Regions from separate parts of the Homo sapiens genome. Here regions 1, 3 and 4 are each linked to region 2. The links are contacts of gene promoters, found by promoter capture Hi-C in blood cells and fetal thymus (Javierre and others, 2016). All regions are on one chromosome and are shown on one strand. Each heading gives the region's core, a stretch centred on a gene start or on the middle of the fragment in contact. The rest is flanking DNA. Distances are from core to core; before and after follow the strand shown.

What was found. The method cuts DNA at HindIII sites, captures the fragments that hold promoters and counts their contacts. A CHiCAGO score of 5 or more calls a contact.
Region 1: a fragment that was not itself captured here is called in contact with the fragment with the promoter of PANX2 in region 2 in 4 of 17 cell types (naive B cells, activated CD4 T cells, neutrophils and 1 more); the score reaches 6.3 in naive B cells.
Region 3: a fragment that was not itself captured here is called in contact with the fragment with the promoter of PANX2 in region 2 in 1 of 17 cell types (total B cells); the score reaches 5.3 in total B cells.
Region 4: a fragment that was not itself captured here is called in contact with the fragment with the promoter of PANX2 in region 2 in 2 of 17 cell types (total B cells and naive B cells); the score reaches 7.8 in total B cells.

What each region holds. Positions count from the first base shown.
Region 1 is chr22:50,629,722-50,636,150 of GRCh38, forward strand. It overlaps LOC124905149 (a long non-coding RNA gene), which reads left to right and starts at 1,773. Exons shown (of 2, transcript XR_007068161.1): 1 at 1,773-4,977; 2 at 5,822-6,285. RefSeq lists enhancers at 5,541-6,057, 6,058-6,429. The HindIII fragment of the contact is 690 bases long and covers 4,166-4,855 here.
Region 2 is chr22:50,168,492-50,175,156 of GRCh38, forward strand. PANX2 (pannexin 2) reads left to right here and starts at 2,240. Exons shown (of 3, transcript NM_052839.4): 1 at 2,240-2,465. The coding sequence starts at 2,240. RefSeq lists a silencer at 1,414-1,473 and an enhancer at 3,073-3,765. The HindIII fragment of the contact is 7,666 bases long and covers 1-4,485 here.
Region 3 is chr22:49,853,542-49,859,712 of GRCh38, forward strand. It overlaps ZBED4 (zinc finger BED-type containing 4), which reads left to right and starts at 303. Exons shown (of 2, transcript NM_014838.3): 1 at 303-448. LOC124905147 (a long non-coding RNA gene) reads right to left here and starts at 4,115. Exons shown (of 2, transcript XR_007068156.1): 1 at 3,953-4,115; 2 at 961-1,745. It also overlaps a transcript of ALG12 not described here. RefSeq lists silencers at 1-490, 661-950 and enhancers at 3,136-3,796, 5,399-5,936. The HindIII fragment of the contact is 470 bases long and covers 1,235-1,704 here.
Region 4 is chr22:49,818,078-49,824,499 of GRCh38, forward strand. It overlaps BRD1 (bromodomain containing 1), which reads right to left. Exons shown (of 13, transcript NM_001304808.3): 2 at 4,874-6,254. The coding sequence starts at 6,240. It also overlaps the pseudogene LOC100420885. Among named protein-coding and RNA genes, the nearest start is that of BRD1, 6.6 kb to the right of the region's middle. The HindIII fragment of the contact is 187 bases long and covers 2,365-2,551 here.

The DNA of each region.
Region 1 (6,429 bases), core at 3,261-5,760, 460 kb after region 2:
GAAAAGTTTTTCTCTAGGCTCCTACAGTTTTGGTGCAGTCGGTAGGATAACTAAAGTCACTCTCCTGGGAGCCTCCGTCAGGGGAACCCAGGAGCCGACAAGCTGGCAGAAAGAAGGGTAAGAAGGTCTTAGCAGCCAGGCTCCCGGCCTCTCTGGAATCTTGTCAAGCCGACGGTAAAAATGTCTGTTTACCTTGTTTTCCTCTTCAAAGTTTTAATGAGAGAAATGTATTTATGTGATTAGTTTTGTATTCATATTGTTTGATTGCTTTTTTTCCCCAGAAATAGTCGTCTTTCATTCTTGTCTTTCTGTGTTTTTCTGTCATAAAGAGGGTAGAACACAGGCCTAAAACCCCTGTAAACCCCGTCTTGGGGCCGTCCTGCAGGCTAGTCAGTTTTGCAGCTCTGATCGGATGCGTCTAGTTAGACAGACTTTGCTGTGGGTCCCTGAACTGAAAACTGGATGAGATTCTCCTCTCTTTTGATGTCCTTGAAAGCTTGAGTTGTGAGCGAGTGGGAATGATGCAGGCCAGGCAGACCCCAGAGTGGAGCTTAGCCAGTGAGGGTTTTGGCTTTGCCCAGGAAAGAATTCAAAGACAAGCCAGAGGTAGAAGAAAACAGCTTTATTGAACAGGTGGCGTTAGAGCTCTGTGACTGCTCCTGCAGAGCAGGGCCACCCCGTAGGCTGAGAGTAGCAGCTCAGGGCAGTTTTGCAGTCACATTTATACGCACTTTTGATTGCATGTAGATTAAAGGATGGTTTATGCAGAAGTTTCTAGGGAAGGAGTAGTCATCATTGGGTCATTGCCATGGAAAGGGGTGGCAACTCCTGGGTGTTGCCATGGCAATGGTAAACTGACATGGCACAGTGGCGGGCATATCTGACTGAAAGCTGCTATTGCCCCAACCCTGTTTTAGCCAATCCTCAACTGGGTCAACTAAGTCCCACCTCCTACCTCAGGAGCACTCTCTTGGCCTCTGCCAATCCGAGGTAGTGACTCGCAGGTCACATTTTGTGGTCAGTCTGAAAATGGTTGGGAACCCAAGACATTTAATATTTTAAGCAGCACCGTTTTTGTTCTGAATGTGTCAAGCTTTTAGTTTGTCTTAAGAAGTCCCTGCCAGGCGAGCTGTCAGAGCCCCGGCACTGGGAGTGGTGGTCAACTTGCGGGTTGGTAAAAAGAGTTTACCGACAATAGGTTTGAAAAAGGAAAGTTTGGCCGGGCATAGTGGCTCATGCTTGTACTCTCAGCACTTTGGAAGTCCAAGGTGGGTGGATCACCTGAGGTCAGGAGTTTGAGACCAGCCTGGCCAACATGGAGAAACCCTGTCTCTACTGAAAGTATAAAACTTAGCCAGGTGTGGTGGTGCGTGGCTGTAATCCCAGCTACTTGGAAGGCTGAGGCAGGAGAATTGCTTGAACCTGGGAGGCGGAGGTTGCAGTGAGCTGAGACAGAGCAAGACTGTCTCAAAAAAAAAAAGAAAAAAGAAAGTTTGCCGGGCACGGTGGCTCACGCCTGTAATCCCAGCACTTTGGGATGCTGAGGCAGGTGGATCACCTGAGGGCAGGAGTTCAAGACCAGCCTGGCCAACATGATGAAACCCCATCTCTACTAAAAATACAAAAAATTAGCTGGGCATGGTGTCGGGAGCCTGTATTCCCAGCTACTTGGGAGGCTGAGGCAGGAGAATCGCTTGAACCTGGGAGATGGAGGTTGTGGTGAGCTGAGATCATACCATTGCACTCCAGCCTGGGCAACAAGAGTGAAACTCCATCTCAAAAAAAAAAAAAAGAAAAAAAAAGAAAAGAAAGAAAGTTTATTAGAATGCTGCAGAAGAGTGCAATGAGGTGCCTCAGCAAGAGGACTGAGTACGCCGGGTGGATTTCTCCTTAAGGGCATTTATAGGCCTTAAAGTGGAGGCTTAACAGTAATTTGGACCATATTAGCCACGTAAGTCATGATAAATGATTACATTTATAGTAATTTTGGTGCCTTAATGTCAGCGACGGTTGTACAGTGAGTTTCGTCATGGTATTCTGGAGACACATAGAAATTATAGTTACTTACACGTTTTTTGGGGGAAGAAATCTGGAACCAGATGCCTGCTTTAGATAATAGGGAGGTTTAGTTACTTTTGATTTTCCCCAGATAAGGAGTTTTGCCTCGGAGGGCCTGTTTGATGTTTGATGGTCGCCAGGTGGTTTTTGCTCTCCTCAGGCCCATCCATAAGGGGCTTTTGTCATCCCAATGTTTGTTGCCTGGTCAGTCCTCAGAAAGCCCAATCCCAACAGGCCTACCCTGTGTTACAGGTTAATGGGTCTGTGACTGGCAGCCCCTGACAGATTGTGTGTTACTGGAGGCACTGTATGTACAAACACGTTCCTTAACTGTCTCTGGGAACAAGAGTCTTTTGCTGTCTTTGCCTATTCCTGGGAGTGAATTTTGGGGGCATCATTGGAACCTCCTCTTCTATGCCCTCTCTAAACCTGGAAAATAATCTTTTGGGCTTTCCATGAAGGGGCTTCTTGGATTGAGTTGCTATTGGAATAAATACATCATTGGAAATTCTGATTGTCAATAGCCAAAAGATGAATCCTTTACATTAGAAAGATCCCTAAATTAAAAAAAAAAAAAGATTTTAGAGGTCTCTCATTCTAAACAATTGCCTTATTTGTATTTGTGGGGAGATTAAAGGAAAGACACATAATAATGTTGTGGCTAGCCTTAGAAATCCTCTTCACAAAATTAAAGAGCAAAAATCTGACCTGTAACAAGTTAAAATCCTTTGTGCGCGCAAACCATTGCTTTGGATCCCTGCAGGATTCACAATGAAGACTGCTGCATCTTGGAAACTACTTAAAATTCTGTACTTTCACTACCATGGCCTGGGTTCAATTCCCAATAGAGGAACCAGTCCCTTTTGGTTTGATATTTGTGTGACTTTTGAATTCTTTCTTTTGTTTTTTTTTTGGAGACGGAGTCTTGCTCTGTCGCCCAGGCTGGAGTGCAGTGGCATGATCTTGGCTCACTGCACCCTCTGCCTCCTGGGTTTAAGCAATTCTCCTGCCTCAGCCTCTGGAGTAGCTGGGATTACAGGTGTGAGCCACCACGCCCGGCTGATTTTTTTGTGTGTGTGTATTTTTAGTAGAGATGGGGTTTCACCATGTTGGCCAGGCTGGTCTCGAACTCCTGACCTCGTGATCCTCCCGCCTTGGCCTCCCAGAGTGCTGGGATTACAGGTGTGAGCCACCACGCCCAGCTAATTTTCTTTTTTTTTCTTTTTTTTTTTTGTATTTTTAGTAGACATGGGGTTTCACCGTGTTGGCCAGGCTGGTCTCGAACTCCTGACCTTGTGATCCGGCTGCCTCGGCCTCCCAAAGTGCTGGGATTACCAGCGTGAGCCACGCACCCAGCCAACTTTTGACTTTGTGCGGAACTCATTTGTTGTTGACCCTTTCCCCCTCCACTGGCAGCTTTTGATTTCCTTTCTTTGAGCTCTTTGGGGTGGCTCTGGATGTCATCAGGACTGCTTTGCGCCTCTTTGGAGATGGCTTATGTGTCCTTGGTTAAGTCCATAGCTTTAGTTAAGGCTTATTGGTTTTGGTGAGTCACTTGGGAGGTACCTTTGGTTTTAAAAAAAAAGGTCTCAAAGCCATGGCTATCAGCTGTTGGTCTCAGCTAAAATCTGATAATAAGATATTTGAAAGGATTTTAAAAAAGAGCTCTGTGGTCAGAAGTTGGCTTAATTAAAAACAGGTGAGCTGATCTTCAAGCCATGTATCTACAGCCTTTTCTGCTTTTGGACCCTGTTTCTGGGAATTTTTTTTTCAGGTGACTGAAACCCCTTTAAATTGTGTGTTTGGTCCTTCTGTTTGGTTCCTTTGTTGGTATAATTTTGATGAGAAAAATGTAAAATTGTATTGGCCTTTTAGAACCTTAACATTTTTCCAAATTGGCTCCTCTAAGGATTGCAGTCCCATTTACTTCTACCCCTCCGTGCTCCTCCATCCCCTTTGCCATCTTTGGTACCTAATGAAGGGATCTACAAGGGACTTCTGATGACTTAGAGACCCCTTGGGGAACGCAAAGAAAGGTGCCACGCGCCCCGCTTTTGTCTTCCTTATGGGGCCTGAGGAGTCGTGGGTAGCTTCCTCTCGGGTCTAAAGCTTGGCTGTCTTTGGCACTGTGTCACTGGATCTCTTTGGCTTTGGGGGTACCAGGGATTACGTTGCACTGTGAGACAGTGCATGACCTGAGTGTGTGTGATGGCCGGCAGGTCACTGGCGAGGGCTGCCTCACAGTTTTGGAGGTGGCTGAAAGCAGTTGTAGTGAATGGTTGTTCCTGCAGTGGCTGCTTGTTTCTCTGCATGTTTAGATGAGAAAGGCACAATCTGAACACTTGGAGACTATGGAAGCACTTGGCGTCAAAGGCTGAGACTCCGTGGGCTGATTGCTGTGGGTCTCCCACCAGCCTCAGGGGAATGTCTTCATAGTGAGGTACACTGTGGAAACACTGTATGGCTTTGTCTCATATATATCTCTTTTTAGAGGGAACTCAGCATTCAGTGTAAATGTGGGATCCTTGATTTTAAAAGATCTAGATGCTCTGCCTTCCAGCTGCACCTGTTTTTCACATATTTAAATATTAGGTCCTCCAAACTGCAAATGCTTTTTTGGCCATGTTCATTAATGAGCTCTGTCCTGAGCCCAGTGGTCTAGTTCAAAAATGGAGAATAAATTAATAGCCACATATTTAAATAACATTGTTGTCCTTATAAAATCCTGTGGTGAATTTCTATGACTTTTTGTTACCTCAGCATCCATTTAAAATCTTCCTTTAACATACTAAATCAAAGCTTAAACTTTCTCCCTGTGGAATTGCTTGAACCAAGGAGGCAGAGGTTGCAGTGAGTCAAGATCGTGCCGTTGCACTCCAACCTGGGCGACAGAGCAAGACTCCGTCTTGAAAAAATTCAGTAAATAAAAATAATTTTTTTTTCTCTGTGCTTCAAGATGTAAATTTGTTGCCTTGTTTTCTCTAAAACTTGGTAAGGGCTTTGGCCGTGTGAGACAGATAAATTTTACCTTGTTCCATTTACAGAGGCACAATTTTAAGTATCCTTTTAAACTAGTGATTTTTACCCGATTCGTGGCTAAAATCTTAAAACTAAAGCTATAAAATCTTGATTTGTGTCTGTATTTTTATGTGTACATGCCTGTTTGTATATTATGTACATAGTAGCAAATTGACGTATAAATAAATAAGTGCTCATGAATGATGTAACTAAACCCAGATGCTTTTCTAGTTCATGTGACTAGTAATCTTTGGCAAATAAACTTAGTTTTAAAATTGTTGCTGCTGGGTGCAGTGGCTCACACCTGTAATCCCAGCACTTTGGGAGGCTGAGGCGGGCAAATCACGAGGTCAAGAGATCGAGACCATCCTGGCCAACATGGTGAAACCCCGTCTCTACTAAAAATACAAAAATTAGCCAGGCGTGGTGGCATGCGCCTGTAGTCCTAGCTACTCAGGAGGCTGAGGCAGGAGAATCACTTGAACCTGGGAGGTAGAGGTTGCAGTGAGCCGAGACTGCACTACTGCACTCTAGCCTGGGTGACAGAGTGAGACTCCATCTCAAAAAAAAAAATGATGCTAAAATTAGAATATCTTCAAAGTCGTCAGTCTTAAATATAATTGAGACATCTTTGCTTGGGCCCATTGGTCGGACAGGTTCAGACAGTCTCTGTTAGATGCTTTAAGGTCATAAAATTTGCTTCTGTCATATTTCTGATACTTGCTTAATTTGTCTGTGAACTTAGGTCTTTGGCTTTGAGCCTCTACATTCTGGGGTCAAGACAAGTGGACATGATGTGGCCTGGAGACATCTGTGTGTCCGCAGTACCTAAGCCCCATCCTCCCTGGCCCAGCTGTACCCCCCGGTCATGCTGTTTGTCTGCAGTGCCCGAGCCCCGTCCTCCCTAGCCCAGCTGTGCCCCCCGGCCATACTGTGTGTCTGCAGTGCCTGAGCCCCGTCCTCCCTAGCCCAGCTGTGCGCCCCAGCCATGCTGTGTGTCTGCAGTGCCCGAGCATTGTCCTCTCTTGCCCAGCTGTGCCCCCCGGTCATGCTGTGTGTCTGCAGTGCCCGAGCATTGTCCTCCCTGGCCCAGCTGTGCCCCCCGGTCATGCTGGGAGGGGTTGAGTCCTCCAGGCATTGTCTTTGTAGTAGCCCATTCTCACACTGCTAATAAAGACATACCTGAGACTGGGTGATTTGTAAAGGAAAGAGGTTTAATTGACTCACAGTTCAGCGTGGCTGGGAAGCCTCAGGAAACTTACAATCATGGCGGAAGAGGAAGCAAACACGTTCTTCACATGAGGTCAGGAAGGAGGTGTGCAGAGCGAAGAGTGGGGAAGCACCTCATGAAAC
Region 2 (6,665 bases), core at 990-3,489:
GTGACTGGGTTATCTGGGGTGAATAGGTTATGTGAGAGGTGACTGGGTTATTTGGGAGGTGACTGGTTTATCTGGCAGTGACTGAGTTATCGGGTGAATAGGTTATGTGAGAGGTGACCGGGTTATTTGGGAGGTGACTGGTTTATCTGGCAGTGACTGGGTTATCTGGGGTGAATAGATTATGTGAGGGGTGCCCGGGTTATTTGGGGTGATTGGTTTATCTGGCAGTGACTGGGTTATCTGGGGTGAATAGGTTATGTGAGGGGTGCCCGGGTTATTTGGGAGGTGACTGGTTTATCTGGCAGTGACTGGGTTATCTGGGGTGAATAGATTATGTGAGGGGTGCCTGGGTTATTTGGGGTGATTGGTTTATCTGGCAGTGACTGGGTTATCTGGGGTGAATAGGTTATGTGAGAGGTGACTGGGTTATTTGGGAGGTGACTGGTTTATCTGGCAGTGACTGGGTTATCTGGTAGGGGTGACTGTTATCGGGGGGTGAGTTGGTTTATCTGGGGTGCCTGGGTTGTCAGGGTGACTGGGTTATCTGCCAGGGCTGATTTATCTGGAGGTGCCTGGGTTATTTGGGGTGACTGGGTTTATCTGGGGTGACTGGGTGGTTGGGTGCTGGGATTGGATGTAGCTGAACTGCCTGCCTCAGGATGAAGTTTGCTGGAAGTCAGGGGCTGGCATCCCTCAGAAAACATGCAAGGATCTTTAAAAACGCAGACGGCGTGAAAGCTCAAAGCAGACACATCCCCTACGCAGCCCAGGGAGGCAGGGGGACCTCCTGGTTTGCTCACAGCAGTGGCCGGGCCTGTGAACACGGGCTCAAAATACATTTTTGGAATGAATTATTGAATGAACTTAAAACTCCAATCACACTAAATCTTTTATATGAAAGATCGTGCACGTTCGTCCTGGTATAGTGGGAAGGGGACCTGCACGAGGGAAAACGGCTGCCTCGAAGAGGCAGGGACCACGCGGGATGCGCCCGCGTCTGAAGCCAGACCCCCGGCTCCCCGAGGGAGAACAGGACGGAGGGCGGGGCTGTGGGGAGCGGAGGGAATGAAGGTCAGGGAGGCGGCGGGGACCCCCTGAGCTGGCACAGGCCCCGGGAACGTCTGTGGAACAGGGGACGGGATGGGGCGTGGGGGAAGGAGGTGCGGGCTGCAGGAGCGGGGGTGATGGGGTCACTCACGGCGGCGGGACTGGGGGTACTGGGTGGGGGGGTCGGGTGGGGCCGGGGCTGCAGTGGAGGGTGTGGGGCGGGGAGATGCCCTCATTGCCCGCGCACTGGCGCCCGAGCCCAGAGAAGAGAGCGCCGGCTTCCCCGCCAGTGGCCGCAGCACCCCAGGAGCGCGGGAACCTCCGGACCCACAGCGGGGCGCGGCCGGGGCAGGTGGGGGGCCCAGGCGAGGAAGCCCCCTCTGCGCCCTGGGCTGGGCGAAGGGCCCTGCGATGCGACGGGGGCAGCCCCAGCGCGCGCCCAGTCCTCACGTCGCCACCGAGCGGCGCCCCCGCCCCAGCCCGGAGCCCCGCAGGGCCGCCCCCACCCCTGCCCACCCTCCCGCGGGCCGGGGCAGCCCCCCGCCAGCCACCCCGCGTTCCCAGGAAGAGGGACCGGTCATTACTCATTCATGTCCTTTCATTTCATTTCAATATTTTCTGCAAAGTCATCGCCCGCGCCGCATCTGCGTGGCGGGGGGCGGGGTGGGGCGGAGCCACGCCGCGGAGTCGCCGCAGGTAAACAGCCCCCTCCCCGCGGCGGGAGCGGGGCCGCCGGCCCCAGGCAGGGACAGCAGCCGCCGCCCGCGCTCCGGGCCGGGATCCCGCCGCCGCCCCCGCCGGAGGCACGCGCCAGGGCGGGGGCCGGGCTGCGGCGGAGGCGGGCGGCTCCGGTGCCCCCCGCCGCCGCCCCGGCCCGGCCCGCCCGCCCCCTGACCCCGGGGGCGGCGGCGGAGCGCCCCCCAAACCCCGCTGCGGGCTCCGCGCCCGGCCAGCCCCGCACCCGCCGCGCGCCTCCGGCTACTCCCATCCCCCGGAGCCCCCCGCTCGGTCCCGGCGTCCCCTGCCACCCTCTCCCGCGGCCCGCGGCCCCGTCCCCGTCCCGCGCCCCCACGCTCCCCGATCCCCGCCCCCGCGCCGCGCGTCCCCTCCCGCCCGCGCCCCCCTCGCCGGGCCCCGCCCCGCGCCCCCCGCCCCGCCCGCGCCCCCCGCCGGGCCGCGCCCCCCGCCCCCCATGCACCACCTCCTGGAGCAGTCGGCGGACATGGCGACCGCGCTGCTGGCGGGAGAGAAGCTGCGGGAGCTGATCCTGCCGGGCGCGCAGGACGACAAGGCGGGCGCGCTGGCCGCGCTGCTTCTGCAGCTGAAGCTGGAGCTGCCGTTCGACCGGGTGGTCACCATCGGCACCGTGCTGGTGCCCATCCTGCTGGTCACCCTGGTCTTCACCAAGAACTTCGCAGGTGAGGCCGGCGGCCGGGGCGCGGGGCGCGGGCAGAGGGGGCGTCCGCAGGTGTCCGGGAGCTGGCGCTTCCCGCGTCCCCGGCGGCTCCGTCCAGCCGCGCCCACCGTGGCCTGGCTGCGTCCGCGGCGTCCCAGGCACCTTCCACAGCCGCCCCCATCCTAGCAGGTGTCGCTGGTCGCACAGACCCCTCGTCTCTATTTTATTGTTGTTCTTCCTTCCATTCGTCCGCCCATGGCCGCGGGTGGGACTAGGCCTGTCTGGACCCAGGGGTCCCAAATGTCATGAGACACGGGGTCTGGTTTGGAGAATGTCACAAGCAGCGCCTGAGGGGATGCAGGGTGGCCAGGTGGGGACCAGGAAAGGCCGGGATGGGTGTTGACAGCAGAGAGCTGATTACAGGGGCTGGTGGAGCTGCCGGGCAGGGTTCCCAGGCTGGACTTGGGTGGAAGGAGGGCAGAGAGAGTCTCTGAGAGGCCCAGGCCCTCCACCCCTCAGGCAGGGCGAGGCCTCTCCGGGTGCACTGGGGGCCTCCGAAGGTTTGAAGCAGGGGGGCTAGCATGGGGCAGGGCCACGTGTCAGAGCAGGGAGCCTGGAGCTCCTGCAGGGAGATGGGGGCTGGACCAGGGCAGGGACCCGCGCTGGTTAGATCAGGACCTGTGGGGGCACTTGAAGCCACCCAGGCGAGGCAGGAAGATGGACAGAGCAGCCAGCCTGCCTGTGAGCCTCTGCGGGGTGGGGTCCTGGTGCCTCTGCCCTCCCCAAGGAGTGGGGCGAGACAGGTGGAGCCGAGAACTTCCTCCCCTGGGGTCTGGGCCAAGGCAAGGGGGATCAGGGTCTCCTGGCCTGTGTGGCCCAGAGGTACTAGTCTGCAGCGGGGAGGGGTGTTGGGACCCTGGGGCCCTCTCTTCTGCAGCCTCCAAACCTCAGCAGACCCTGCCTCAGCACTGGCGCTTCCCAAATCTCCCAGATGCCTTGCCTTAAGGAGTCCCCGTGGCCTGGAGACACCAGGCCTGAGGGTGGACATTGGCCAGGCTGTCTGATCCCACCCAGGGGTGGAGGAGGCCTCTGCTGGTCTCCTCTTCGACACTGGAGGCCAGACCCCGGGGATTAGAGGACCCCTGGGGTGGGCACACAGCACACTCTGCAGAGCAGGGAGCCCAGGCGTGCGGTGGGGCCTTGGGGCAGGCCCAGCATGTCCAGACACCACGTGTGTTCTCTGTGTTTGTAGCAACCAAGTACCGCAAACTAGGCAGTTTCAAACAGCAGACATTTATCTCTCATGGTTCCGGAGGCCAAAAGTCCAAAATCGAGGTGTCGGCAGGGCCCTGCTCCCTCCCACAGCTCTAGGAAAGGGACATTCCAGCCTCTTCAGCCTCTGGTGCTGCCGGCAATCCTTGGGCGCCTTGGCTCGTGGCCGTGCCACCAGTCTCTGCCTCTGTCTTCTCATGGGCTTCTTCCCTCCCTGTCTGTGTCCAAATTTCCTTTTTTTTTGAGACAGAGTCTTGGTATGTCGCCCAGGCTGGAGTGCGGTGGTGCGATCTGCAACCTCCACCTCTCGGGCTCAGGTGTTCTTCCTGCCTCAGCCCCGAGCCCCCAGTAGCAGGGACCACAGGCATCCCACACCACACCCAGCTAATTTTTGTGCCATGTTCCCCAGGCTGGTCTCAAACTCCTGGGCTCAAGTGATCCTCCCATCTCAGCTTCCCAAAGTGCTGGGACTACAGGCGTGAGCCACTGTGCCCTTTTCTCTTCTTCACCACCCCCCCGCTTTTTTTATTTTTATTTTTTGAGACAAAGTCTCGCTCTGTCACCCAGGCTGGAGTGCAGTGGTGCGATGTCGGCTCACTGCGACCTTTGCCTCCCGGGTTCAAGCGATTCTCCTGCTTCAGCTTCCCAAGTAGCTGGGACTACAGGCACCCGCCACCACGCCTGGCTCATTTTTTTTTTTTTTTTTTTGAGACAGAGTCTCGCTCTGTCACCCAGGCTGGAGTATAGTGGCGCGATCTCTGCTCACTGCAAGCTTCGCCTCCTGGGTTCACACCATTCTCCTGCCTCAGCCTCCCAAGTAGCTGGGACTACAGGCGCCCGCCACCATGCCCGGCTAATTTTTTGTATTTTTAGTAGAGACGGGGTTTTGCCATGTTGGCCAGGATGGTCTCGATCTCCTGACCTCGTGATCCGCCCACCTTGGCCTCCCAAAGTGCTGGGATTACAGGCGTTGAGCCACCGTGCCTGACCCATTTTTTGTATTTTTAGTAGAGACGGGGTTTTGCCATGTTGGCCAGGCTGGTCTCGATCTCCTGATCTCAGGTGATCCGCCCGCCTCGGCCTCCCAAATTGCTGGGATTACAGGCATGAGCCACCGCACCCGGCCCAACTTTCTTCTTTAAAGCGGAAAGGAAGCGAGCGCTCTGCCCCCGAGCACCCTCCCAGGAGCCTATGGGCTGGTTCCTCTTTTTGGCTTCATCATCCTTGGAGGGCCGAGCGCAGCCCCTGATGCCGCAGGGCAGGGTTGGGCCTGAGGGCCCGTGTGGCCAGCTGCTGTCTCAGGATGCAGTACCCTCGAAGGTTGGGGGCCAAGTCCCAGGGTCTCCAAGGTGGGCTGGGGAAGGGTCTCGGCCCCCCTCAGCCTGCAGAGAGTGGAGAATGTAGCAGGTGCGCAGCCACCGCCAGGATTAGCTTCCTGTGGCTGCTGGAACAAACCTACAAGTCAGAAGCCAGATGCGAGTCTCATGGGGCTAAAACGAAGGTGTCAGCAGGGCTGGCTCCAAGGGGGAACCCACTTTCTGCCTTCTCCGGCCTCCAGAGGCCTCCACATTCCTGGCCTTGCAGCCCTTCCTGCGTCCTCAGAGCCGGCTGCGTGGCGTTCTCTCTCCCAGCCCCACTTCTGTCCTCACATCTCCTCCCTGACTCTGACCCTCTTAGAAGAACCCTGCAATTGCTGCCCACCAAGACCCCCAGCCTAGGCATGTCTGCAAAGTCCTCGTGAACCGGGAAACGTGACACCGCCACAGGCTCCGGGGTTGGGATGTGGCATCTTTGGGGGCCATGATTCTGCTCACTGCAGACCCCATGTGGAGGTCTGTAAGGCCAGGGGAGTCGGGGAAGGGCCAGGGCCTGGCCTCGGCTGAGGGCTTCCAGGATGTGGCAGTGGTCTGGGGTGACCAGACAGGGTTTGGCCAGCAGGCAGGAGGAGGCTGCGCAGAGCCAGGGGTGTCCTGGAGAGGTGTCCCCACTCCCCAGGTGGGAGGACAGGGGTGGAAAGGGCTGTTGGGAGGGACCCAGCTTCACCCTTGGGGGGCACCTTGGGGCCATGTGCAGGCCAGATCGCAGGGGTGGGCTGGAGATGAGCTTGGGGATGGCAGAACCGAAGAAGGGCAGGACTGGGGGAGGGCCGGGGGGGCTGGGCTTTAGCCTCGGGTCCTGGGGACGGCATTCTGAATATGGGAATATGGGCCGTGTTGGGGTGTATTCAGACACCCGCTCAGAGGTGCTCCAAGCAGCACCAGGCCCCTGGCTGCCAACTCTGATATTGTCACTGGGGCTCTGAGGGCTGGGTGTGGACAGGCTCCTTGGCTGGGAAGCCAGTGTCCTCTCGGGGCATAGCTGGCATGGCCAGGATCCACACAGCAATGTCTTCCAAGAAACGGGCCCCTGGCGGCGGCTCTGTCTGCCCTGTTGGATGGGCCAGGCCTTCCTGCCTTCCGTTTGGACACCTGCACTGGCCCAGGCAGGGTCCCACTGTCCCTGGGAAGTCCCAGAGGAGGGCCTCGGACAGAGGACCCGTAGCAGTCGCTGCGTGTGGGATGGGCCCGTGGATTTGGGCTCAGCAGCCCCTCTCTGCTGCCCCACCCCGAGTCAGGCCAGCACCCCCGGCCCTGGCAGCCCCTGCTAGAAGCTGTGGCAGCATCCACCGGGAAAGGCCCGGCTGCCAGCACAGCTTTGAGTCCGTCAGGACCTGCTGAGGCTGCCAGGAGCACCCTGTACCCTGCAGGTGCAGCGGGTCCAGGGAGGAGGGAAGCCTTGCTGGACATGCCTTGGGGCCCCCAAAGGGCCGGGCCGGTCACCTGCAGTGAGTCAAGGCAGTATCCTTGGTGGAGCAGATGAGGAAACTGAGGTCGGAGTGGCAAGCAGGACTTGGCTTCCCCTTGCTGCCGCCATCCGGCAGGGAGACAGTGACAGGCATGAGGAGTTCGGG
Region 3 (6,171 bases), core at 220-2,719, 320 kb before region 2:
CCGCGCCCCGCCCAGCCAGAGCGCCTAAGCCCTTCCCGTCGCCCGCCAGCGCCGGAGCGCCCACTGCGCCTGCGTAGTTTGCCCTCCTGGACCCGGGGGCGGAGCCGAAGCGCGCATTGCGCCTGCGTCTTCCGCCCGACCCCGCCCCAGCGGCCGGGCCTCCGGCGCTCCGTCCTCCCGCCCGGCCAGGGACGAGGCGGGGCGGGTACGCGGACACTGCGCCTGCGAGAGTAGGCCCCGCCCCCGATCGGCCCCGCCCCCGGCCAGCCCCGCCCCGCGCCGCGCGGGGCCCTGGGAGGGGCGCAGCGTCCGGCGGCGTCGCGGGCGGCGGGCGGCGGGGCCGCGGGAGGGGCGCGGGGGCAGACAAAGCCGCGGTAATGAATGGAGCGTCCGCCCGCGCCGCCGTCGTCCGCAGCCGGCCGGGAGCCGCCCCAGAGGCCGGGCCGAGGTGAGTGCGCGGGCGCCGCCGCCCCGCCGCCTGCCGCGAGCCCCGTCCCCCGCGGACCGCGCCGGGGCCGGGCCGGGCCGCGCCATTGTCTGCGCCGCGCCGGGGCCAGGGCCGGGGCCAGGCGGGCGGGGGCGCGGTTCCGTGGCCTCGGGGTCCCCGCCCGGCGCCGCCCCGGACCCGCCCCCGCGCGGACCCCGGCCCTGACAGCTGGCGCGGGGGCGGCGCCGACTGAGCGGCCGAGTGCCGGGGGTCGGCGCCCGGCCTGGCCCACGTGCCCGCGCCGTTGCTTCCGGGCGGACGGGACGGGGCTCGGGCTCGGGGCGCCGCCCGGGTCCGCCGGGAGCGCGCTGTCCCGGCCACGTCGAGTTAACCCCGCGAGCCCCGTCCCTGGGACTTCTCTGGACGTGTCATTCCCGTCCCACCTCCAGGAAGGGCCACCTGGGCCCTGCTTCATGTCTCAGCCCAGACGGGTCCTTGCGACGCGCCCCGAGGCAGGTTATTGTACGTGGTTCTGGGGATGACCGTTCACATTTAATGAATAAAAATGTAACTTGCCTTGCGAACCATAATTTCAAATGTTTTTCGACTGCAGTGGTTTTCCTACACCCAAATGAGCTCGCAGTCAGTTTTGTTTCTTCTTTTGTCCCGTTGTGTGGCCCACACCGCCTTCGTTGCTAAGAGAATCGCAGCCCCTCGGGCTCCCTTCTGCGCCTTTCTATTCCGGGTGGCCCTGGTAGACCCGGGCACCTCTGTGGAAACACGTCCCGGCCAAGCTGAGCCGTCAGAAGCTTCTGTTGGTGTTCTCGTGTTGGTCGAAAGGGAAGTTATTTATTTTGAAGTTAACTCTGATCAGATTACGTTTTTAGAAATCCATTCAGACCTCATAGTGAGGCCAGTTTGGTAAAGCAAGGGCATCCTGCGACTTTTTACACAGAAATGTTTTTTATTTTTTCTGTGTATGTCATTCATAGTGACAAAATTGAGGCTAGGAAGGATTTGGTTGGGATTTTTTTTTAAGTGCTATGAATAAGCCACATTTTGATTATGAATTAATTGCAATTACTAAACAAAGTTACTTTGCAAGAGGAAAGTTTACAGGAGTTTGATTCCATACTCCGAGGGTTTCCAATGGGACGTCCGTACAAGGCTGCACACTTCCCGTAGTCCTTAAACGGATTATATCTGCTTGTCATGATTGGCTTTTTTTCAAGAAAAGATCTAGCACAAGTTAAGAGAGATTCTGTGAATCTTGAAAAAGCTTCAGAGGCCCGGTCTTTGAGGTGAGGACACAGTTAATCTATATGGAAAGAAACCTAAGACTTTTAGTCCACTTGACAGGTGGTTACAGGGTCTCCCCCAACACACACTCTTGTCCAGGTAATTCCTGAATAAGGTGGTTGATGTTGTTGGATGTAAAACCTCTGCTCTTTAAGGTTACCTCCTCCCCAACCCCCTCCACACACACAGTGAGTAACTCAGCTGTGCAAAGTATGTCCATAACACCTTGCAGAAAGACTAAAAAAATTACTAGGGGAGCGGACTGACTTCTGTGTGTGTGCAGAGGAGCTGAGAAGCAGCTTCTTTAGCGAAAGGTGTGTGTGTGTGTGTGTCTCAGATCCTTGGTGAGGAGCCCTGGGGAGTGGACTCCTGGCGGCATGAGGAGCAGGAAGTGACCGTGGTCAGTGCCGTCCTTCACTTTGTTTTGCGTTTTTTTCTTTGCCTGGCTTTAGCTTCTGGTCTCATTCTCTTTGGTGTGGTGGTTGTCTTTTGAGAGGAGGGAGCAGGTGAAACAGCTGGGCGTGGCTTTGCCCAGCCCTGGGGTAGAGGCCAAGCTGGCCCTTCCTTACCAACGTTGTTTCCTTCACTGTTTAAATCTCAGGACCTGAGAATGTACCTATAGGAATTGCTCTTATTTACATTTGGCTGTGTAAGAAAGTCACTGTGCCTTTAGCCCGTGACACCCCTTAGCGGTTTGGTTTTGGCTTTCTCTTTTAGTGTCTGTGGATTCCAGCAGCTCTCTGGCTTCAGCCCTTTCAAGGATTCGGGCCTCTCTGCATCCCAGCCTTCCAGGCCCTTCTGCTCCCCACTTTTTAGCACCTAGGTTTTTCTACATTCTGCAGTACCTCAGATCCCTTCCTTGGTCATCACTGGATATGTGCTTTTGTAGTTCAAATTCTGGGAGGCATTGTTAGGAATAAAATAAGCTCTTTGCCATTTCTGAGGCGGAGGGGAGCAGGAGAGACAGAGGTGCTTGCCTCTCTGCCTGCTGGGGCCATGGTGGTTTTCAAAGAAGGCCCTGGCCGTAGGGAACATGGTGGTGGTGAGGAGCAGCGTAAACCAGAGAAAAAGGCTCAGTAAGTGCTTCAAGGAGAAACACCGGCAGGTGAGAGCAGGGGTAATCCCAGTTTCTCAGGAAAGCATGCTCCGGAGACCTCATAGGGAGAGGAGGTTGCCCTGAAGGGTCTGGGGGCGATGGCGGAAGCCCCAGGAGAGCATTGTCCATGAGGTGCAGAGGCAGCCTCACGGCATCCCAGTGCGTACCTCCTGCCCGGCCCAAGCGCCTGCTGCTGAAGCCGCCTCCCAGCTCCCCCGGGTTGTTTCGGAATTCAGGGGACATGCAGCCTAAATGACCCACACTGGAATCCCGGCCGGCTTCCCATCCCTCGTTCTAGGTGAAGGCCGCGCTGGAATCCCGGCCGGCTTCCCATCCCTCGTTCTAGGTGAAGGCCGCGCTGGAATCCCGGCCGGCTTCCCACCTCTCGTTCTAGGTGAAGGCCGCGCTGGAATCCCGGCCGGCTTCCCACCCCTCGTTCTAGGTGAAGGCCGCGCTGGAATCCCGGCCGGCTTCCCACCCCTCGTTCTAGGTGAAGGCCGCGCTGCAATGCCAGCCAGCTTCCCACCTCATTCTAGGTGAAGGCTTTTCAGCAGCCATGGCCCATGTCTTTCCCAGCAAACTCTGTGTGCAATAGAAACAGCTGATGCTGGCCTGGCCCTGGGGATGGGGTTGTGACTGCTGCAGCCCCCTACCTGATTAGGGTCGGGAGGACCTGGCCCCCCGCCCTTCCTGCCTTGCCACCTCCACAGACAAACCCTGAGGGGCTGACTTCCTCCAAAGCTGCTCCTCATCGAGGCCCACCTGGTGGTCTCTGCTCCACCTGTTTGCTGCAGGGAGCAGGGTCGGGAGCATGTGCATTTCGGAGAGCTCTGGTTGCTCCGTCATAGAAGCCATGCTCCACATCCTGTAAGTGAGAGACTCCCCAGCAGCGTTCAGCCATAGCTGCGATGTCAGGCCTGTCACTAGTGGGACTGCCCGGACCCCCAAGGTATGGGTACACGGCGAGGGTGCTGGTGTTAAATACAGGGGACCCACAAAACCACCTAGCAGAACAATCCACATGACCCTGTCGTGTGACCCAGAACATTTCAGGGATGGAACACGGACCAGCTGACCTTAGCGTGGTCGCTGGCTTGCTCTGGAAGGTGCCGTTTCCAAGACGCCCTTACCTGGGTTCCTGAGCACGTCTGACAGAGCAGCTCTGACTCCGGGTTTCTGGAGTCAGACCCCTTGCCACTGTCTTTGACCTTTAGCTTTGGGTTCCCCTTCTCAGTTTGTTTGTTTGTTTGTTTATTCTCACTCTGTCACTCAGGCTGGAGTGCAGTGTTACAATCTCGGCTCACTGCAACCTCTGTCTCCTGGATTCAAGTGATTCTGCTGCCTTAGCTCCCTGAGTAGCTGGAATTACAGGCACCCGCCACCGCACTCAGCTAATTTTTGTTTGTTTTTTGAGATGGAATCTTGCTCTGTCACCCAGGCTGGAGTGCAATGGCACAATCTCAGCTCCCTGCAACCTCTACCTCCCAGGTTAAAGCGATTCTCCTTCCTCAGTCTCCTGAGTAGCTGGGATTACAATAGGCGTGCGCCACCGTGCCCGGTTAATTTTTTTTTGCATTTTTAGTAGAGACGGGGTTTCACCATGTTGGCCAGGGTGGTCTCGATCTCCTGATCTCGTGATCCGTCCACCTTGGCCTCCCAAAGTGCCAGGACAGGACTACAGGCGTGAGCCACCGCGCCCAGCCAGTTTTTGTATTTTTAGTAGAGATGGGCTGTCACCATGTTGGCCAGGCTGGTCTCAAACTCCTGACCTTAGGTGATCCACCCGCCTTTGCCTCCCAAAGGGCTGGGATTACAGGCGTGAGCCACCGTGCCCGGCCCCCTTCTCAGTTTAGCCCAGACCTGGATGTTGGCTTCTGTGTGGGCAGCTGTTGTGAGCCATGGCTCCTGCTGGAATTTGTGGCAGTTGATGCTGCTGTGCACCCCCAGAATAGGTGAAGGCTACTCAGGTGTAGCCCCGATGGTAGTTTATGTCCTCAGGAGGAGAAACTGCCATGTCCCCGTCTGAACCAGGCCCGGAGTCTTGATGCATAGCTCTTTGCCTCCCTGGGTATACTCGACAGCTTGTTGAGAGTGCGTGTGCTCTGAGTTGAACACGAATATATTTCTGTTGTTTGAAGGTTATTATAAAGTTTCTAACTTACAGAGTTGGCACTCCTACGTCCCTTGCCCCCAGCTGGAGCTACCGTGACTGCCACCAGCTGCCACCTGGCACGTGCTGAACTGTCTTGAAGGAAACTGCAGATATCTGGACACTTCTCTAAGTGTTCTTTCTCCTAAGAAAGGGAAAGGGACATTCTACTGTCTAATGACAGTCGCGTCATCGATGGCGTCTACAAAACGTGACTGTGTCCCTTGGCGTCATCCAGTAGCCAGTCCACGGTCTGAAGTTGTCCCCCAACGTCTTTACTAGCTGTTTTTCCCAACCAGAATCGAGTACAGGGCCACGTGTCACAGTGGCTGTGAGGTCTCTTTGCGTTCCGGTGCCCCCGGAGCACCCCCTGTGATCTGGCGGTGGGAGGCCTGATTTGATACAGGGGCACGTTTGGGGCGCAGGTGATGCTGTGTGCTGCACTGTGGGCGGAGGCTGTCCCATGAGGACGGATGCGACTTTGCTCACTGGCCCTTTAAATTGTGTCCCTGCCCCCCACAGTTGGCGAGTTAGATGAGGGGGTGTCTCGGGGTGTGTGGACGCTCTGCTCCCATCAGACCTCCACATGCTGTTTGCTGGTCTCCCCAGAACCTGTGGGCAGTGGCACCTTGGCTTTAGTATGCTGTTGTTCTTTTTTTCTTTATTTTTGTCTGTGTTTCCCTTCTTTGTTACGTCTTAGAAAATGCTGAGTTCTTTCTCTTTATTACCAATTCTTAGCGGAAGATGGTCTAGTAGACACCTCTGTGGGGGCAAATTTTTACTTTTCCTTTGTCTTCCTTGAGTATCAAGGTGGACTAGTGGATTTTATTTATTCCATGTCATAATCTAGTAAAGCCTTTTGTTTTGTGATGCTCAAATAGCTATAAATGTGACTAGTTGGGAGCCCCTTCCAAGCTGGCCCCTGTGTCCTTTTCACTCCATACGTGGTCCTGGGAATGCATCCTTTCTGGCCCAGTGTCCCAGGCTCACGGTGATGTCTTTCCCAGGCCTGCGTCAGCTGCTTCTCCACAGCGCCTGGGTTCCTTTTAGTGCAGAAAGGCATCTGGACACCGAGGTCCAGGCCATAGACGTAGTCATTGTGCTTGTCTGTTATTGCTTAATGCCCTGTTCGCGGACACAGCTAGAAAATATGTATTTAAAACATTGTGAGTTCAGTCAATTTGAATTATAGTTAAAATT
Region 4 (6,422 bases), core at 1,208-3,707, 350 kb before region 2:
AAGGCTGACCAAGACCAGTTCATCCTTTTAAACTCAAAATAAAATGACACCAGTGAAGGCGGGAGGAGCACCCTATCAGGGTGAAGGCGGGAGGAAAACCTCATTCGAATGAAGGTAGGAGGAGCACCCATCACAAAGCCTTGCCTATCTGAGGTTCTTGTCCGTGAGGCTGAAGTCCAGGCTCTCGTAGTAGAGGAGCTCCTCCTAGAAGATCTGAAGCAGTCAAAGGAACCAAACCGACACAGGCCGTCTGCCTGCTGATCACAGTCTCTTTTAAGACACTTTCTACTTTGCATTCTGATGAACCTAGGAGTTTTGTTAAACAGATTATGCGTGTATTTATCCCTCATTTCATGCAATAACCAAAAAGAGTTATCAGGAAACCCTGTTTGTCTTTTCACCCCATGTATGAACTCTCATGTGAATGAGTCCTGCAGTAATCCATGTTAAGGGAGCCCTAATTTCAAACTGGTGCAAATGGAAAAGACTTTCCCTTTTCCTTTAAGACTAAAGACAAAATGTCCTCCTGGCCGGGCTCGGTGGCTCACGCCTCTAATCCTAGCACTTTGGGAGGCAGAGGCAGATGGATCACGAGGTCAGGAAATCAAGACCATCCTGGCTAACATGGTGAAACCCCGTCTCTACTAAAAATACAAAAAATTAGCAGGTGTGGTGGTGGGCGCCTGTGGTCCCAGCTACTCAGGAGGCTGAGGCAGGAGAATGGCGTGAACCCGGGAGGTGGAGCTTGTAGTGAGCCGAGATCGTGCCACTGCGCTCCAGCCTAGGTGACAGAGCAAGACTCCGTCTCAAAAAAAAAATGTCATTCTATACAGGTGCAACTCAATCCGTTAATAAAAACTGATGTATGCTGGAGAGAGGAAGTGAAAAGAAAAAATAGGGCTGGGTGCGGTGGTTCACGCCTGTAATCTCAGCACTCTGGGAGGCCAAGGCAGGCAGATCACCTGAAGTCACGAGTTTGAGACCATCCTGGACAACATGGTGAAACCCCATCTCTACAAAAAAAATACAAAAATTAGCCAGACACCGTGGCACACACCTGTAGTCCCAGCTACTCGGGAGGCTGAGGAACGAGGATCGCTTGAACCTGGGAGGTGGAGGCTGCAGTGAGCCGAGATTATGCCATTGCACTCCAGCCTGGGCAACAGAGCGAGGCTTCATCTCAGGAAAAAAAAGAAGAACAGAAAAGAAAAAATAACAATAAATCAATGTAAGGCCAGGCATGGTGGCTCACGCCTGTAATCTCAGCACTTTGGGAGGCCGAGGCAGGCAGATTGCTTGACCCCATCTCACCAAAAAATAAAAACATTAGCAGGGCATGGTGGCACATGCCTGTGGTCCCAGCTACTCAAGAGGCTGAGGTGGGGGAGTCGCTTGAGCCCAGGAGGTCGAGGCTGTAGTGAGCCATAACCATGCCACTGCACCCGTCTGAGCAGAAGAGCAGGACTCTGTTCAGGAGATTCTCCTGCCTCAGCCTCCTGAATAGCTGGGATTACAGGCGCGCACCACCACGCCTGGCTAATTTTTATATTTTTAGTACAGATGGGTTTTCACCATGTTAGCCAGGCTGGTCTCGAACTCCTGACCTCGTGATCTACCCACCTCGGCCTCCCAAAGTGCTGGCATTACAGGTGTGAGCCACACACCCAGCCCTGCCTGTTTTTCAAAGTGTTTATTTACCGCTGTTATTATTTAATCATAGTATATCAAACTTACAAAAAAACAGATTATAACCTTAAAACTATCTCTTTTAGCCTGGCGCAGTGGCTCACGCCTGTAATCCCAGCACTTTGGGAGTTCGAGGCGGGTGGATCACCTGAGGTCAGCAGTTCAAGACCAGCCTGGCCAACATGGTGAAACCCCGTCTCTACTAAAAATACAAAAATCGGCCGGGTGTGGTGGCAGGTGCCTGTAATCCTAGCTACTCAGGAGGCTGAGGCAGGAGAATCACTTGAACCCAGGAGGTGGAGGTTGCAGTGAGCCAAGATCACCGCACTGCACTGCAGCCTGGGCAACAAAGCAAGACTCCACCTCAAAAAAAAGGGGGGAAAAAAAAGAACTATCTTTTTTACTTGAAATTTTAATTTTTTAAACCACTAGAATTATAAAAGCAGTCCGTCCCTGAAGGCAGATTCTGTTCTGTCCACAGGGAATAAGGAAGATCCTCTTTCTCTAAAATCTCTAAAACGCTGCTCAGATGGGGTCTCATCTCCCTTCCAGCGTGACTGGCTGGCCTGAAGCATAACATCCTCAGATGCTCTAGGTGGGTCCTACACCGGAGCCATTGGTTAGTGCACACCATAACCAACTAGACTCAGCATCCCCGCCCACGGCTGCACATCAAGAAGCTTCACCATGGGCCAGGCACAGTGGCTCGTGCCTGTATTCCCAGCTGAGGCTGGGAGGAGGCTGAGGCGGGAAGATCGCTTGAGTCCAAGAGTTTGAGGCTACTGTAAGCCATGATCACGCCACTGCACTCCAACGTGGGCAACAGAACAAGACCCTGTCTCTAAACATAAAATAAAAAATAAGAAGCTTCACCCTCATCTACACAGAATTCAAATGCACAGCTGAGGCCTCCTACATGCACCCAGGGGTAGTGCCCAGGGCCTAAGAACAGGGCTGCCAGATCAGCTGCCTCTCAGACCACAGCAAGGCAGTAAACCCGGTTTCAGGCAGCAGTCAGTACTGTATTGAGAGCCTGCCCCTCACAACCACCCCAGAGGTGGGTCCAGCACCATGGTGCCAACAGGCCAGGCGCACTGGGAGCTCCTCCACTGGTGGCAAGGTGGCCTGAAGCACCAGCATCTCCTGGAGACTGGGAAACCCAGACTGCAGAGACCGCGGCCAGGAACACTCGTCCAGGTTTGTTTCTCTCTCTCTACTCGAAGCTGAAATAATAGTTTATTCCCAAGTTAGGAAAAGAACAGAACCACACAGTACGCGGTTTAGCTCCAATACATGCTTTCAAATATTTAGGTCGAGTTTTCTTCTCAATCAGCCCTGGCCACTTCAGCCCCCATGTCCTGCATGCAAACACTGCCTCCTTCAGTCCTGCCTACCCAACATCAGGAGCCAAAGAACAGAGAGCGTGCGGCCCGGCCAGGCCCGGCCTCTCCCAGAGCAGGTCATCATCTGGTACTGGCCAGGGAAGGGAGCACTTCAGACTTTTGGCTCTTCATTTTGTTAGATCACATTTTGTTTATTTTGCTTCAATTTCAGTAAAGCTGAAATTTTTAGACCTCTTATACAGAAGCTCTTAATACAAACCCTAGACTTTTTGACTCATAGGTAGAAATCCAAGCAAAACCATCTCTTCAAAGTCAGATTAATTTACAAAGACAAACACCTTGGTTTTGACAGGGTTTTCCCTGGATGGGAAGGATTATGAGCATTTTTTGTTCATTCTGTCTGAATTGACTAATTATCTGAGTATTTACAGCTCTGTGAAAAGAAACTGGACTTCACTTTGGTAAAGTAGAGTAATATTAACAAAAATCACTTAAAACTTCTTTTTTTTTTTTTGAGACACAGTTTCACTCTGTCACGCAGGCTGCGGTACAGTAGCACAATCTTAGCTCACTGCAACCTCCCAGCCTCACCGCCCGATGCAGCTCAGCCTGCATGCGTCCCACCTGTGCTGTCCTCCCCTCACATGTGGGGCAGGTCTGACACCTCAGAGGGTCCTGCTCACTGACCCCCGGCAGTCCTGGAGGGTCTGTGTGGTACTGGGGCTCTAGGCGTCTCCCCCAGCCAAGCTGCAAGCTCAGCACCAGGCTGGCTCTACCCGCCCTGTTGACCGGCAGGCCCCATCTGTGCTCACAGCTCCTCCCCTTGTTTGGCCACCCTTTCCTCAGGGCATCTGCAGCAAGTGGGGGGCACAGCACGGGAAACGGGGCCAAGGCCACAGCAGTGGATGTCCCGATGCCGGCAGTCACTGGGAAGCCCAGGCCAGAGCCCCTCGGGTTGAAAGTCATACAGAGTTCCTGCGTGGGCTTCATTCCTTCTTAAAGTTTAGTCACTGAAATTCTTAAAAATCTTCACGCACGGCTGGGCATGGTGGCTCACGCCTATAGTCCTAGCACTTTGGGATGCAGAGGCAGGCAGACTGCCTGAGCTCAGGAGTTCCAGACCACCCTGGGCAACATGGTGAAACCCCGCCTCTACTAAAAATACAAAATTAGCTGGGCATGGGAGCACACGCCTGTAGTCCCAGCTACTCAGGAGGCTGAGACACAAGAATTGCTGGAACCTGGCAGCAGAGGTTGCAGAGAGCTGAAATCGTGCCACTACACTCCAGCCTGGGCAACAGAGCAAAACCCTATTTAAAAAAAAAAAAGGCTGAGCAAGTGCTGTAATTCCAGCACTTTGGGAAGCCAAGGCGGGCAGATCACTTGAGGTCAGGCGTTTGAGACCAGCCTAGCCAACATGGTGAAACCCCGTCTCTACTTAAAAAATACAAAAATTTGTCGGGCATGGTGGCGCACGCCTGCAGTCCCAGCTACTCAGGAGTCTGAGGCAGGAGAATTGCTTGAACCCAGGAGGCGGGGGTTGCAGTGAGCTGAGATTGCGCCACTATACTCCAGCCTGGGCGACAGAGTAAAACTCCGTCTCCAAAAAAAAAAACATAGAAAACTACAGATTATTCCAAGCCTACAGACTAAAATCTTTTACAACATCTATTCCCCAAAAAGACGTGGTAAACAAGCAGAACCACACTTCAGGGGAATATTAGGAAGCTGCGCCAACTAGAAACGCAATGACCACACAGCACGGGCCCTGCAGGCTGTGCCCACGTCCTCCCAGGGTCCCACACTGCAGGCTCCTTGTGGACTCAATGCTTGGACACGCTTACCTCTGCGGGGGAATATAAGGAGCGCACACGGTCGGCAGGACCGCGCAGGGCTCAGCCAGAGCTTTCTTAGCCTTTTTTGCCTTCTTCCTGACCTTGGATGTGGACCTGACCGTTTTAACCGAGCTCTCTTTTCGACAGACGCCATTTTTCATTTCGACATCCCCGTAAATATTCAGAGGCCTCCGGGTGCAGCCTGGAGGCGTGTGGACATCACAGTAAGCGGTCTTTCTGACGGAGAAGGTGGTGCCACCGCCAGTCAGTTCCTTCACGGGCTCCATTTTCATGTACAGGCCAGCCTTCTGGGCACACGTCACATGGAATGCTGTGTAGCAGTTTGCTTTGTGGCACTGGATGCAGGCACCCACGCCCTTCTGCTTACAGAGGTAGCATGTCAGTTTCCACCGGGCTGGAGGGATGTTCCTCACCCCATCGATGGGCTCGATGAACACCGTGTTGGCAAAGCCGACCTCTGGGATCCACAGGGCACACACCACGTGACCCCAGCGGTCGTCATCTGTCTTTTTGAAGGCACCACCCTTGTTGGGGCACAGCACACAGTCGGCGGGCCGGGCCCGCGACTGCAGGCAGTGGCGGCAGAGCCACTGGCCCTCGGGGATGTAGGGCACCCCGTAGCACTCCTGGTGCACGGCCAGGTTGCACATGTCGCAGAAGAGGATCACGTTGCTGTTCTGACACTCCCCGTCCATGCAGATGCAGCACACGGCGTCCTCGTCGATCAGAGACTGCTGCTCGCCCTGCTTCTGGTTCTCGCAGTGCGACTCCTTCTCGAAGCGGTCCATCAGGAACTCAAACATGCTCTGCGACACGGCGGGGACGCAGTCGCCCTTGCGCTTCTCATTGACGATCTCCAGCCAGGCATAGTCCTCCTCGTCCATGTCATACTCCACCTCGTTGTCCAGTTCCTCGGCCGACTTCTCGATGAACTTGTAGTACACAGGAGGCCTCCTGGGGGCGGACGGAGGGCTGTACTCCACGATGCGCACCTTGGGCTCCGGGAGGGCACTGGCCGAGGCCGGCGTGCCGTGGGCGCTGGGGAGGGCCTCGTTTTTCTTTTTGACTCTGTTGTTTTTGTGACGCTTAGTTCTTAAGCAGACAGGAGGCCGCTCGCTGTTTTCCTTGTTGCTGTTGCACTCACTCATCTCTTGAGCAGTGAGGTCATCTTCCAATATGATCTCCAGGGGATCAAAAATACTGATCCTGTGCAAGCGCCCTTCAATTTCTATCTCTACCATCCTTTGAGCTTGAGCGTAGGTCAGCGTTTCTCGCGTAGGGGAGTGTTTAACACTGCATGGGGAAGAAGGATGCCTCGCTGCAGAGCCTCGATGACATCGTCCTTTCCTCCTCATTTGGTAATGATTACCTAAAATGAAGGCAAAAGTAAAGGTAATTCTACGCAGGGTGACCAAAGACTCGAGAAAACCACAAAAGCATGCTTGGACAGATCTAGCTCAGCAGCTCAAAGCCCAATCAAAGCAAAACTCACAGCTAACCTCTTTCCAAGGTGTCCAAAACCACACATCCAGGCCTG